Regions from separate parts of the Homo sapiens genome. Here regions 1, 3 and 4 are each linked to region 2. The links are contacts of gene promoters, found by promoter capture Hi-C in human tissues and cell types (Jung and others, 2019). All regions are on one chromosome and are shown on one strand. Each heading gives the region's core, a stretch centred on a gene start or on the middle of the fragment in contact. The rest is flanking DNA. Distances are from core to core; before and after follow the strand shown. Region 1 overlaps MAPKAP1 (MAPK associated protein 1). Region 2 holds the start of MVB12B (multivesicular body subunit 12B). Region 3 overlaps PBX3 (PBX homeobox 3). Region 4 overlaps PBX3 (PBX homeobox 3).

Region 1 (3,027 bases), core at 233-2,732, 840 kb before region 2:
TCCCATTCACGCAGGATAGAATTGAGGCTCAGAAAGATTAAGACACTTGCTTAAGGTTACATGGCTGTCTATTGATAGACATAGCTGTCTACTGACAGAGCCCCCACTGGCTCAGGGGGCACCTGCTAGTGCTTGAGTGTGACAGTCTCATCACTGGCCTCCTGGTCACCAGGCTCTTCCTCTGCAGTCCAGCCGCCACAGGCTTTCTGATCCATTTTTCTAAAGGTTGGATCATTCATTCATTCACCAAATGCTCAGAGAGCACCCTGTGCATGCTAAGTACTCTGATATGTGACACTGGAGACAGATAAGAAGCCTGGTGCTCAAAAATCTTCCCTGGCTCCACGGCCTCCTGAATGAAGAACACTTTTTTAGCCAGGCAATCGGGGCAGCCCATAATGTGCCTGAAACATACCAATATTCTTCTCACTTCTCACACATGCCTTCTCTCAGCCCTCTCAAACCCCTCAGACTGCACAGTGCTTCAGGCTTTTATAATTCTGGGCCTTTGCTCATGTGCTGCCCTTGGCCTAGAACAACCCTCTCATCCTCACCCAGACCTGTTGAAATCCCTCCACCCCTCCCTAGGCTAGCTCAAACTCTACCTCTCCTGTGAAATCTTTTCTGATGGTTCTTCTGGAAGTGAATTCCATAAAAGTTGGCTTATACTGGACCCTGGAGCCCGACAGCTGCGGCCGCAACTCCTAGCTCTGCCTCTAATTTGCTGTATGATCTTGGGCAAGTGACTTTATCTCTCTGAATTTCAGTTTTTGCCATTCACATCCAAATTTAGGTAAAGAATATGTATGCTTCATAAGAGCAGTGACTATTTTTCTTCTAGTGTCAGGGTGGATTATATTCAGCCGTGTGCTAGAATTGCTTAGTGGTTGCTCTGTCCTAATCTGGAAGCTTTGTGAAGGTCAGGAAAGTTTCTTACTCATTTTTATATCTTCTGCAAGCAGTAAAGGCAACTGGTATGCTCTCACTAAATTGTGCTAGATAAATAATAGCTAGTATACATGAGTGCTTACCATGTGCCAGGCTTGGTGTTAAGCATTTCACACGTTACTGCATTGAAGGTCTTATAATTTTCCATATTACAGATGAGAACTCTGAGGCTTTGGGAGGCTGTCACATGCCAAGGTTACACTAAGCAAAGTTAAACTATCTCTCAGTCCCTGGACTTTGAAATGTGGACTTCTGCAGATGCAGCTGTTGGTGCCATCACCAGTGCAGGGGGTAGAATGGGTTGGGAGGGGAGGAGCCTGTCTCGCAGGGGCTGACCACAGTAGGGTGCTCTAGGCCTCGTGTTGAGCACTCAGAGACAGTTCCACAGGGAAACCTAGGGAGAACTCTAGGGGGAATGGAAAACTCTAGATTTGGGTATAAAACTGGAAAATTTTGTAACAAACTGGTAGCCTGACAATGATATGCTTTTCCTTCCCACAGTTACTGCTTACGGGGCAAGTATTTTAAGTCAAAGTTGGTGTCTGATGCTTTCACAGTGAAATCATTTATTAGGAAATTTGTGTTCTATTTGCAAACACTACAGTAATTCCCAACCTGGACCATCCCAGCACCCACAATAGTACTTTCCTTCAGTAAGGACATGACCTCGCCCTTCACTGAGTGCCTCTGGCAGAATCCCATCTCAGAGCCTCTTGCACATGCTGTCCTCTCTGCCCAGGTCACCCTTCTCCCCATCTCATTCTCTCCCGGCCCCTCCCTGTTTTCCTACTGAAGAGCAGAGCACCAGTGACACTCCAGGGAAGCCTTCCCTGGCCGCAAGCCCCCGGCACTAGTTTGGCTCCTTCTGTCCCCGTATCCTGCATTTTTCTTCAGAACAGTTATCACAGGGAGTAATTGCCTGTCTCTGCCATTAGACTATAACCCCAAGAACACAGGGACTGCTTTCTCACCACTGCAACTCAGACACTGCCAGTGCTACCACTCAGAGGATAAAGCAGAGCTCAATAAACATGTACTGAACGAATACCAGGTGCCATGTCCACAGGAAGGTGAGGGTCAAAGAGACAGAGTGACTTAACCAACATTGCACCTCCAGGACACTGCAGAGCTTCACTCCACATCTGCAAGGGCCACTGGGTAGCCCCTTTCCTTTCTTTGCAGCACCTATGATTTTGGACAGAGATGCCATGATCCTGATTACCACTCTCTCCTGGGTAATACTGAGGCTGGTTAGGATTTGGAGTTTCAAATAATCATTCACTTTTTCCAGTCATTTTTACTGAAACATAACTGCCAAAACATGTTTTATTTCTATTTTAGAACTTCTTATACATGAGAATTGCAGAGAATTTTGGTAAAATATTAAAATCATTTAATGTTTTAAAAATCATTTCAAGTCATCTTTTCTGAGAAAATGCTATTATTAGATACAATTTAGCTCTGAGCTCAAGAACTTCTGTTTGCTTTACTAATTAGTGTTTTCTAAATATTGCAGGTATTTGATTTGGAAAGAGGTAACAGCTCATTATGCTAAAATGCCAATTACTAAAAAAAAAAAAAAAAAACCCACACTTAAGATTTTTACATTTTATGATGTTGGATTAAAACCAATTTAAAAATTACTATAACGTGACATATAATTTTTTACTGAGCAATTTCAATGCCAGCTGCTAATAAAGCATCTTAGCTATAAATGATAATTCAGATGCTTTTAGATAAAGTGGTGCATAAATATGGCTGGAAATTGATTTAGCTTCTTACAGAAGCTACTGAAGAATGACATATTTTGTTTAATACACCAGCTAATGTAGTCCTAAAAGCTCAAACAAGTGCCAGTTTTCACTCCTAAATTTGCTGTGGGAGATTAATGAAAACTTTATATTTTGCTGAAATGTTAATAATGGGCAGATGAGATGATAGGATTTTAGTAGAGGTCTTAAAGCTATGAAATAACCAGCAAGGCTTGTCAATATCCTTGTATTAATTTTGTACAAGACTTACATAGCTGGAGCTGGCTCAACACAGTAATGCTTCTTGCATTGACCTTCTACTCTCTGA
Region 2 (3,167 bases), core at 362-2,861:
TATTGAGGATTTATCAGTGAGCTTTAGAAGGTGGTCCTGGCTCAGATGAGTTTGGGAAATGCCAGGTTAAACAAACCAAACAGGTTTCTTTACTCCTGGACTTCACAGAGGCCTTCCTTAATATACGAATACTTATCGTGATTCTCCAAAAGGTACACTATAAACGGCATGCAGCACTTTCTCAAGTTGCCCACAGAAGCCCATTTTCAAAAAATAAATATTAAATTCTCTGGGGACTCGTGTTCTAGGTTAGTCATCTGCAGTTCTTTTTGGTATTGTCTGTTGGATTTTGGTATCAGGGTTATGCTAAACTTGGGAAATGAAATAAAAATTTTTGTTTCTTTTGTTTATTTTTTCCTGTGTAACAGTTTAAGTAACATAGGGATGATCTGTGCCCTGATGGGAGGATAAGGCTTGCTGTAAAGCCATCTGAACCCATGGCATTTCTGAGTAGTGAAGACACTGGGAATGCACACGTGCATGGCTTCCCTACAGGATGTTTCCCCCGACAGCCCATTCTGCTTGGCACCCTTCTCTTTAGGATCAAACAGCTATTATGGAAAAGCCTAGAATGTGTGAAAATGAGACTCAATGCATTAGCAAATCAATGCTGATCACTCCTGCATGGTCCTCAAGTCCTAACGAATGCTCCAGCCTCCTGGCAGGAAACCTTTCAAATCTTGCACACGCTGGCCTCTGCCTGGGGTGCCTGGCTGGGCGGTGTGGGGGGCATGGTTGGTTAAGGCGCAGAGTCCGCCTTTCCTACCAGCCACTCTAGCTGAGGGTCAAGCTCTGGACCCTCCCCCAACCATCCAGCTCCATTTTATCCTTGGCTTATGCCTTCCCCAAGTACTGCAGGGTAGGACTCCTGCTAAAAACTTCTTCTAGATGCTTGCCTGAGGCTGGCCCCATAAACCTGATTCTAGGCTTCTGGGGATAAATCATCTAACTAATATAAGAGAATTGCTAGGCAATTGGGGTTAGTTTGAGACGACTGGCTGAGCTCACCTTAGGTGAGCTGGGGGGTGGGGGAAGATGAGCTGAAGGATTCTAGGGTTCAGTGAAGCCTAGAATGGCTGGGTGGGCGGAGAGTCCTTAGAAGGGTCCAACTTCTAGCCTGAGGGCCTGGGGGCTTCCAGGGATCTGCAGCCGAGCGGAAGACCGGTCTTGCGTACAGCGAGGCCTACGAGAGCTAAGTGGGCTGAGGGTCCCTGGAAAAGACCAGCCTGGGGGCGGGGACCATCGATGCCCCAGGCTCTAGAGGCCGTGGGCTCCCGGGGGCCTGAGGCTGGACTGGGGTCGCCGGCGGGCTCGGGGAGGCCCGGGTGGGCGCACCGGGGCCCTGCCTGCGGCTGACGGGCTGGGTCGAGGGGGAGGCTGGGGAGGCGGGGTGCCGGCCGGGGCGGCGGCGCGGGCTCGGGACGCCAGGGCTCCCTCTCCCTCCTCCCGCCCGAGCCAGCCTCGGGCGCCGGGCGCCTCCCCCGATCCTGAACCAGCGCCAGCGCCGGGAGGCCCGGAGCCCGGCCCGCCGCCGCGGCCCGCGGAGGGAGCCGCCGCCGCCACTGCCGTTGTCGCCGCCGCCGCCAGGCCGCGCCCCGCCCCTCCGCCGCCGCCGCCGCCGCCGCCGCTCTCGGTGAGGCTCGCGCTCGAGCTGCGGCGCCGGCTCCTGCCGCCTGGGCCCCGGGCCCGGCCCCTCCCGCGCCGCCCGGGCGATGAGAAGCTGCTTCTGCGTGAGACGGAGCCGGGACCCGCCGCCGCCGCAGCCACCGCCGCCGCCGCCCCAGCGGGGAACAGTTAAGTGAGGCCCGGGCGCCGCGGAGGCTCGGCGGAGCCGGCCCTGCAGCCGGGAGGGCGGGCGGGCGGGCGCGGGCCCCCGGCCGAGGGGCGGGCGGACGGGAGGAGCCGGGCCGCGCCGAGGCCTGCGGGCTCCGTGCCCGGCCCGCGGCGGGGACAGGCCCGGGCGGCCTTTGCAGAGCCCCGAGCGCGCCGCGGCTGCCGGTGCCCGGGCTCGGCCTGGCGGCGAGAGGCGGGAGAAGCTGGGGGACCCGAGTGCCAGCAGCGCCCCCAAGGCCCGGGCAGGTGAGGGGCGCCGAGAGCCACCTCTGCCCGCGTGAGAGGGAGGCGGCCCACCTGGGCACAGACTGGGAACAGTCAATCGTTTGACCGGCCTGGCCTGGGGTCCTGCTCTCTCTGGTCACGTGGGTGCAGACCAACGTGCACCTGCCCCAGGAGCATCACTGCCTCTGTGACCTGGGCACAGCAGAGAGGACACCTAAACCCTCAGGCACCTGTCTGGAAGGTGACATGCCCAGCCTGGGTACCCGAGACCCAGAGCACCCATCCAGGAACATGGTGGGCACGTCGAGCACCCTACAGTGACTCCAACACCAGCGAGACGGGAGGAGCAGGGGCTGGGACAAGAGCTGAGGCATGGCACCAGGGGACATCACATCCTCAGAGGCAGGCACCAGGGAACGGGGTAGACCCAAGAGCATCTTTTGTCCTCTTTGTTACCAACACACAACTGTTCTAAATCAGCAGCCCTTCTCACCATGAAAGATGAGACTCTTCTGTTCCCTGCCCCTCAACACCTCTTGCACAAGGCACTGAGGAAGACCACAGGAGGGCAAAAGGCAAATGGTGGTTGCCCCTTCCCTGCTTCCTGCCCCCACCCAAGAACCAGAGCCCACTCCGATTGCTGCCACAAAAGCAGACAGCAGACCAGCTCCTCTTAGGGGCCTTTGTCTCTCGTGGTTCCTTCTCAGTATAATCTCATTGTACATTTCTCGACAGCTGGCTGGATCTCATCTCGTTTTAACAGGGCTGGGAAATCTTATCAGCGGCACCAGGAAAGCTTAGAGAGTTAAAAAATAAGCTCTGTGAAGCCTTGACTAACTGAAAAACTCAATGTGCTAGGATGTTTAGTTACAGTAGATGGTGACACCTTTCTTGCTTGTTAGAAATCATGTGGGGTCCTTGGAGATACTGTACCATGCTCAGAATCTTTAAATAGGGCCTCAGAGAGATGAGGCTTCTGCTTGGGACCCGGGCTCCAAGCCCCATGGGAAGCAGTTGACGTGGCGATTACTGGTTCATTTAAACCTAAACTTACCTTCTGTAATCCATATTTTTCATTCCTTCCTTCTAGGCTTTAGGTCACACTCCTA
Region 3 (3,151 bases), core at 265-2,764, 570 kb before region 2:
TCCTGCTAGCCTCTCTAAGCTCGAGAGGGATGGGATTTAAGTACTGAGTGATTGATGGGGGTGAAGCTCTTTCTCTTCTTTCCATTCTCCCCTACTACCCATAGCTTCACCTCACTCTCCAAAACTAGTCTTAGAATGAGACAGGGACTCAGAATCCTCAATTCGAAATAAAACAGCTGTGTAGACATTAGTGTTACCAAAGCAAAGAAAGCGGGGCTGCAAATTCCAAGCCCCCCCACTCCTGCTTCCATAGTCGGTCATGCTTTAGAAACATGAACTTATAAAAGAAACATTGTAGAATATATGTATATTGCATAAATATTTTTTAAAAATCATTTTATTTAATCTAATAATACCTAAAAATTAATTCTTTGTAATTTAGAGAAAGTTTACCTAGTCATTTATGAATAGAAACCAGAAACATTATGTTGATGACTCTATTCTGCTTAATGAAGGGGGTTGAGGGTGAACTGTCATTTCAGTGGATAATGTCATTTCAGTTGTGCTTTTCTTCTAAAACAAAACAAAATCATTTTAAAAAAAATCTGTTTATTTGTAGCTCTGCCAGTGGATTTTGAGGTTTCTGATCAGGCAGTGAACACTGCCAGTTCTTATGCACATGGGGGATTTAGTTTAGAAAACATCTGTTTCCCCCTCTACCATATATGAAAAGGTATTTTTCCCTTCTGACAGATAAATGGGTAATCTACTACAATTATATTATTTTCTTGTTGAGAGGTAAGGAAAGTATACTTCTACTATAAGATGCTGCTTTTTCTTGAGAATATATTCTTTCGTAAAATTGATCATACCATTATTTTTGGGCAGAAATGTCTCTCATTGTTGAATTGTGATATTTGTGCATTTTGAGAGCACCCAAAAAGTTGTAGGCTTTAAAATAAAAATAGTTGTTTATTTTAAACCAAGTAACCAGTGAGATTATTGTTGATATGTTAAGATTTTTCTCCTGATTTTTAAAGCCATATTTTATCATCTGTCTCTTATTAAATATCCCTGATGCCACAAGGTCTGCTCACCTGCATACCTCTTTTGGTGTATGCCCCCACCTCTTTTTGGTCATCTTAATCTTAATTGTTGAAGTGCTTTCCTTTGTGAAATATTTCATCCTGAAAAATCTTGTCTTCTTTCCAAAGCCCTTAATTGTGCGAGTTTAAGTGAAGGAAATAGTTCTTTTTCAAGAAAAAAATATTTATTTTTTAAATGAAATCCCACATTTTAGTAGATAATATGAATCACATTATTGTGAAAAATGTTATGCATGAAAAAAAATAAACACAACCTTTTCCTTTTCAAATAATAGGTTAAAATACTCCATGTTGATGGCTGCCAACCAAACTCTGATTTATTGCCACCACAAACCCTAAATAGCGTTCATTTACTAGTAATGTCTAATGGCATACATGATGGTTTGCCAGATTTGTAGCCTTTGTGAGGCTTATAAGTAGGACTGACTTGGGAAGATCATAAAACTTAATGAACTTCTCTACTGCAGGAGGTGTCCGCAGGGGAAGAGAAAGGCCTGCTTGGTTGGTTGGGCTGGTTGAAGTATTTTTTATGTTTAAGGAGAAGAAAATGACTAGTAAAAATGCCTTACTTTTAAAGGAACCCTCCCTAGAAAGAGTCATAAGAATTTTAGATATTAAAACTAGATCAAGAGTATAGTTTACAAGTGAGGTTTTATGTGCATTTAGTATATGATGTGAGATTAAACCTTTTATCTTTATTGCTAGAAGTGTGACTAGCTTTCAAAGAGACAAGGCAGTACTGTCATTCGACACCTCTCTATTTAATTGTGAACCCACAGGTTTAGAGACTCTTTGGAGTCTTTTTTTGGTGTGCTTCTCTTTTTAAGGTTTCAATATAAAAATCTGTTACATTTTTCTTTGTACAGTGCTGTGTGATTCTTTTAATTCTACATATGTAAAAATCAATTTTTTCAAGTGAAAATTTAGCAAGAAAGGTGAAAATTGTTATATATTAGTCTAAATGTTATTATATATTTTGCATATGCTTTTAAGTTGCTCTTGCACTATTTCCAATATAATTATCATCTTTTGTTTCAAGTTTTAAAAACAAATGCACTGTTCCATACATGATTCCTTTTTGTGTTTTCATGAAACACATTTTGTTTTAATGAACTTATTTTCAAGATTTTAACAACTTTTTATTGTGGACACCTTTGAAACATAACATGCAGAGAGCAGAGACTCTTGAACCTCCCATGAACTCAGTGCCCATCTTCAGCAATTAGCAATACTTGGCCAGTCGTGTTTTCTCTGTAATTCCCACCATTCCAAAATTATTTTGAAGCAAATTTTAATGGTTCTTTAATGTTTTAAGTTTCATATCAATTTTAAGCATTAGGTCTGCTTATATTGGAAATATTAAGTGATTAAACAGGAAAAATACAAAGTCAGAGTATCTTGGAAATGTTATAAATTATATTGCTTTATCAATATATTTTTCTTAACTTAATATTTTACCTTTTTTTTTTTCTATTTTTATAGATTTGGTATCTTACTGGAGCTTTTGTAGGAGGTTTTCAGAGAAGTTGTAAAAGAAAGGGATTTTTCTACTTCTTTATTCTTCCATTTCCATCCTAACAAAATAGCACATATAATACATTTGTAGAAAACCTGGAGAAAAATCTCATTGCCAAGCTGGTTTAGAACCTCATGATCTAAAGTATCATGTGGATATTATCTTTAAAATATAGAGACATTTTCCAATCCTGTTCTTTATTTTTTTCTTCCCAATAAAAATGTATTGAACTCTCTTGTCAATACTAACTTGATCTGTGCAAGTAATTCTTTTGTTCCTTAGTTTTAATGACCCTCATTTTATTACAGATTTGAATAGTTTTGGTATTTTATTTGGGACTTTACTATGTTATTTTATTAATTTACATAATTTTATTCTGAATTAGAAGTCTTTTAATACACTAGCAAAGGAGGCCCCGACTTGCCCCAAAGAGCACACTGGTTGATCGGCTTTCATAAAATGTACTTGTCTACATTTTTCATACTATGATGCTTTTCCTTTTAATTAATTTTGCCTGTATATTTCCATCTCAATTTATAAATTTTGTAAAAGGTTACTTCTGAGGCAAATTTAAATTAACGTATTAGTT
Region 4 (3,046 bases), core at 420-2,919, 560 kb before region 2:
TGTGTTACAGTCATTGTTGAACTGTTTACTTCCTATTTTGAATCAACCACTGATGTGTTGCTGTCGCTCATCAGGTGGAAAGACCTGGAAAATTATATTTTATATTCACTTGCTTTTTAACTGTAACCCTTAACAGCATTTTGAAACAGTTAAAAAACAAAACCCCAATTATTTATAATGGAAAGCCATTGGAAGTAATTTTGTCATGGATTCTCTTAGTTGCAGGTGACCGGTGAATTTGGCGAATGCTAAGTGGTGAGTTAGGCTGATATGTATGTCTAAATCTCATCATTAAACCAATGGCATTAAACCAACTGCCAAGTATTTTGCTTCATGAAAACCATTAAGACATGGAAAGCTCATAACTATTTGGCTGGTGAATAGTTTATTCTGATTTTGTCCTTATTCTTAAAAAGTCATGTAATTCAAAAATCTGCCCTTTCTTCCATGTAATAGTTAATATCTGTTCATACCACCATTCACAGGTATCTATGCTTGTGGTACTCCAGAAAGCTGTAGTGCAGGAAATCTGTTTTTAGTGTAGTTTCCTATGTGAAAGTGATAAAAGCAGTGGACCCACTGCTCACTTTCTAGAAAAGTGCACATACTCATACAAGTTTAAATACAGTTTCAGGGAGTTTATAGACACCTTGAATATCATTCATGGATCCCTCATGGATACCATGGACCTTGGGTTAACAATAGCTTTGTAGAGGTAGACTTTTTAAAAAACTACATTTTATCCAAATTTGTAACTGCAATCCACTTTCTTCTGAGAAGCCTAGTGGATCTGCTTTCTACCCAGTGGTTCTACAAACACTCAGACCACCAGTCGTTTCTGAGTGTAGTGAATCTTTGAGTGTATTGAGGGGAAAGAATCAGAAAAATGGAATAGAACAATTACATGAAAGGCAGGAGCAGGCTAGCAATGAGACTCAGGTGCTAGTAGGACTAGAGAAAAAGGCTGGCGGCCGGTGGGACGGGGAGAGGGGAGTTTAGAAGAGGGAAATCTGAAATTAGAGACATGGGTTGTTGAAGGAACTTATTTGGTAATTAGCATATATTACCTTGCAAGAATGATACAAAAAAAAAATTACTGGTTTATGACCTAGATGATATAAGGTCCTTGGGGGTGGTGGGGGGCAAGTTTGTCTTTTTGGTAACTGTTTTGTTATTTCATGTTGCTTTATAGGGATTTAATTTCTGCTATGTGATAGAATTCTTTTAAGATACATGCCATCCTTGTGTATATAAAATAAGTAGATGATTTATTGGGTTAGAATCTGTATTTAATTTGTTAAACTTTCCTATGTAAAGACTTTTGAAGAGAATATCTGTGTCATTTATTCTCAAACTTTTTGATCTTAGGACTCCTTTATACTCCTAAAATAAGTTTTGTTTATGCGGGTTTAATCTCTATTTATTGTATGAACAATCGAAACAAATTCTTAAAACGTTAAGTTAATTTAAAAATTAAAATCATAAATCGATTATGTTAGCATAAATAACATTATTACAATTATCAGCTTGTTATATGTTATCCTAAACAGCATTTTCTGAAACAAAACTAAGCAAAACTAAATGATAAGAAGAATAGTATTGTTTTACACTTTTGCAAATCTTTTAAATGTCAGACTTAATGGAAGACAACTGGATTCTCATATCTGCCTTTGCATTCAGTCTGTCATCATATGGTTGATGTATATGAAGAAATATCTGGCCTCATACAGATACCTAATTGGAAAAGGAAAGAGTATTACCACCAAACTTATCAGGACAGTTTTTTTAAGTGCTGGGAAGATTTCATACTCACAGTGGAGGACACAGTGTTTCAAAATTCTAATTTTTGCTTGAAAGCATGAATTTTATTATTAGCGCCAAAACTGTTTATTGTTTTACTTGAAGTATAGGTTTACTTGGTTTCTTTTTGAAAAAAGGTCTGCCAAAATAAGCTGAAATAACCATAATTTGTTAATTTTTTTTTAAGCAGCTAGTTCAGCTTGCAACTCACAGTTATGCAAGTGCTTTCCTCACACTTGGCATGCAGCCTAAGTGCTTTGTGGAGAATTTGTATTTTGTCACAGAATATTAAAAAGACACAGTGAAGGTGTGATTGAGTTAATAATTTTTACTGTTTCATCAAGGACATTGTGAAGTGAAACTGGCCTTTAAAAAAAAATTTAAGTGCCTAGTGGTAAAGAATACATTGTTAGTATAGTGTGGTGCCGCTGTCTTGCTTTGTGCAATGGCGCCAGCAGTTTTATCCACCTTTGCTTTGTGCACCATCAGTATAAATGTCAACACAGTGAAAAAGACCAATATCTTATTACTGTGAAAATAATTTTAAGTTTGTGGACTCCTGAAAGGGTCTCAGGGACCACCAGGGGTCCACGGACACCATTTCAGAACTACAAGTCTGTGTAAAGTGAAATGCTTATGTAATATAATTTGCTCTGAGAGCATTATTTTATTTTCATCTGTAATATCTATACAGAAAGATTACCTTACCTGGAAAGAAACAGGTTTTTAGTATGCTGATCCTAAAGGCAACAGAATATATCGTGAAGCCATTAGCGTGATCCTCTTAGCGTATTTGTTAAGTGCCTACACAAGTATGGTATTCTGCTGAATATTCTTCAGTGTGGAAACAGCTTTTGCCCTTAGAAGGCAGACCCTGTAGTCAGTCTTGACTGCACACATAAAGGGAAAAAAAGGATAGATCAACAGATCACATTTTGTTGGATCATAGTTTTCCATACAGAACTAGTGTAAGCTTCCTGGGGTTCCTGGGTAAGTCCTAGAGTGATTATTTACAAAATAAGGAAGTAGGACGAGGAGATTTCTAAGGCTTTATTCAGTTTAATATTCTGATTCTTTGACTTTTTTTTAAACTGAGTGAATTGTTTATTAATTAGCTCTTAACCACTTATTAATTTATTTAAGCTCAACTGGTTATGTATAATTTGTATTTGTTGCTATCACATTGGTTAAGCATTAATGTTATTTTGCAGTATTGAAAAACGGAATGTATAGAAGAGGAAATGGA

What was found. Contacts are between HindIII fragments. The study calls those that stand out against the background at their distance.
Region 1: a contact is called between a fragment that was not itself captured here and the fragment with the promoter of MVB12B in region 2, in 1 of the 25 tissues and cell types used here (lymphoblastoid cells).
Region 3: a contact is called between a fragment that was not itself captured here and the fragment with the promoter of MVB12B in region 2, in 2 of the 25 tissues and cell types used here (dorsolateral prefrontal cortex and hippocampus).
Region 4: a contact is called between a fragment that was not itself captured here and the fragment with the promoter of MVB12B in region 2, in 2 of the 25 tissues and cell types used here (heart left ventricle and mesendoderm cells).

Annotation. Positions count from the first base shown.
Region 1 is chr9:125,485,100-125,488,126 of GRCh38, forward strand. All of the region lies in intron 8 of MAPKAP1 (MAPK associated protein 1), which reads right to left. Among named protein-coding and RNA genes, the nearest start is that of MAPKAP1, 220 kb to the right of the region's middle. The HindIII fragment of the contact is 3,100 bases long and covers 1-3,027 here.
Region 2 is chr9:126,325,218-126,328,384 of GRCh38, forward strand. It overlaps MVB12B (multivesicular body subunit 12B), which reads left to right and starts at 1,612. Exons shown (of 10, transcript NM_033446.3): 1 at 1,612-1,793. The coding sequence starts at 1,713. RefSeq lists a silencer at 1,597-1,736 and an enhancer at 2,178-2,829. The HindIII fragment of the contact is 8,205 bases long and covers 1-3,167 here.
Region 3 is chr9:125,750,781-125,753,931 of GRCh38, forward strand. The region is part of intron 2 of PBX3 (PBX homeobox 3); the gene reads left to right. Among named protein-coding and RNA genes, the nearest start is that of PBX3, 5.0 kb to the left of the region's middle. The HindIII fragment of the contact is 5,452 bases long and covers 1-3,151 here.
Region 4 is chr9:125,766,996-125,770,041 of GRCh38, forward strand. All of the region lies in intron 2 of PBX3 (PBX homeobox 3), which reads left to right. Among named protein-coding and RNA genes, the nearest start is that of PBX3, 21 kb to the left of the region's middle. The HindIII fragment of the contact is 8,625 bases long and covers 1-3,046 here.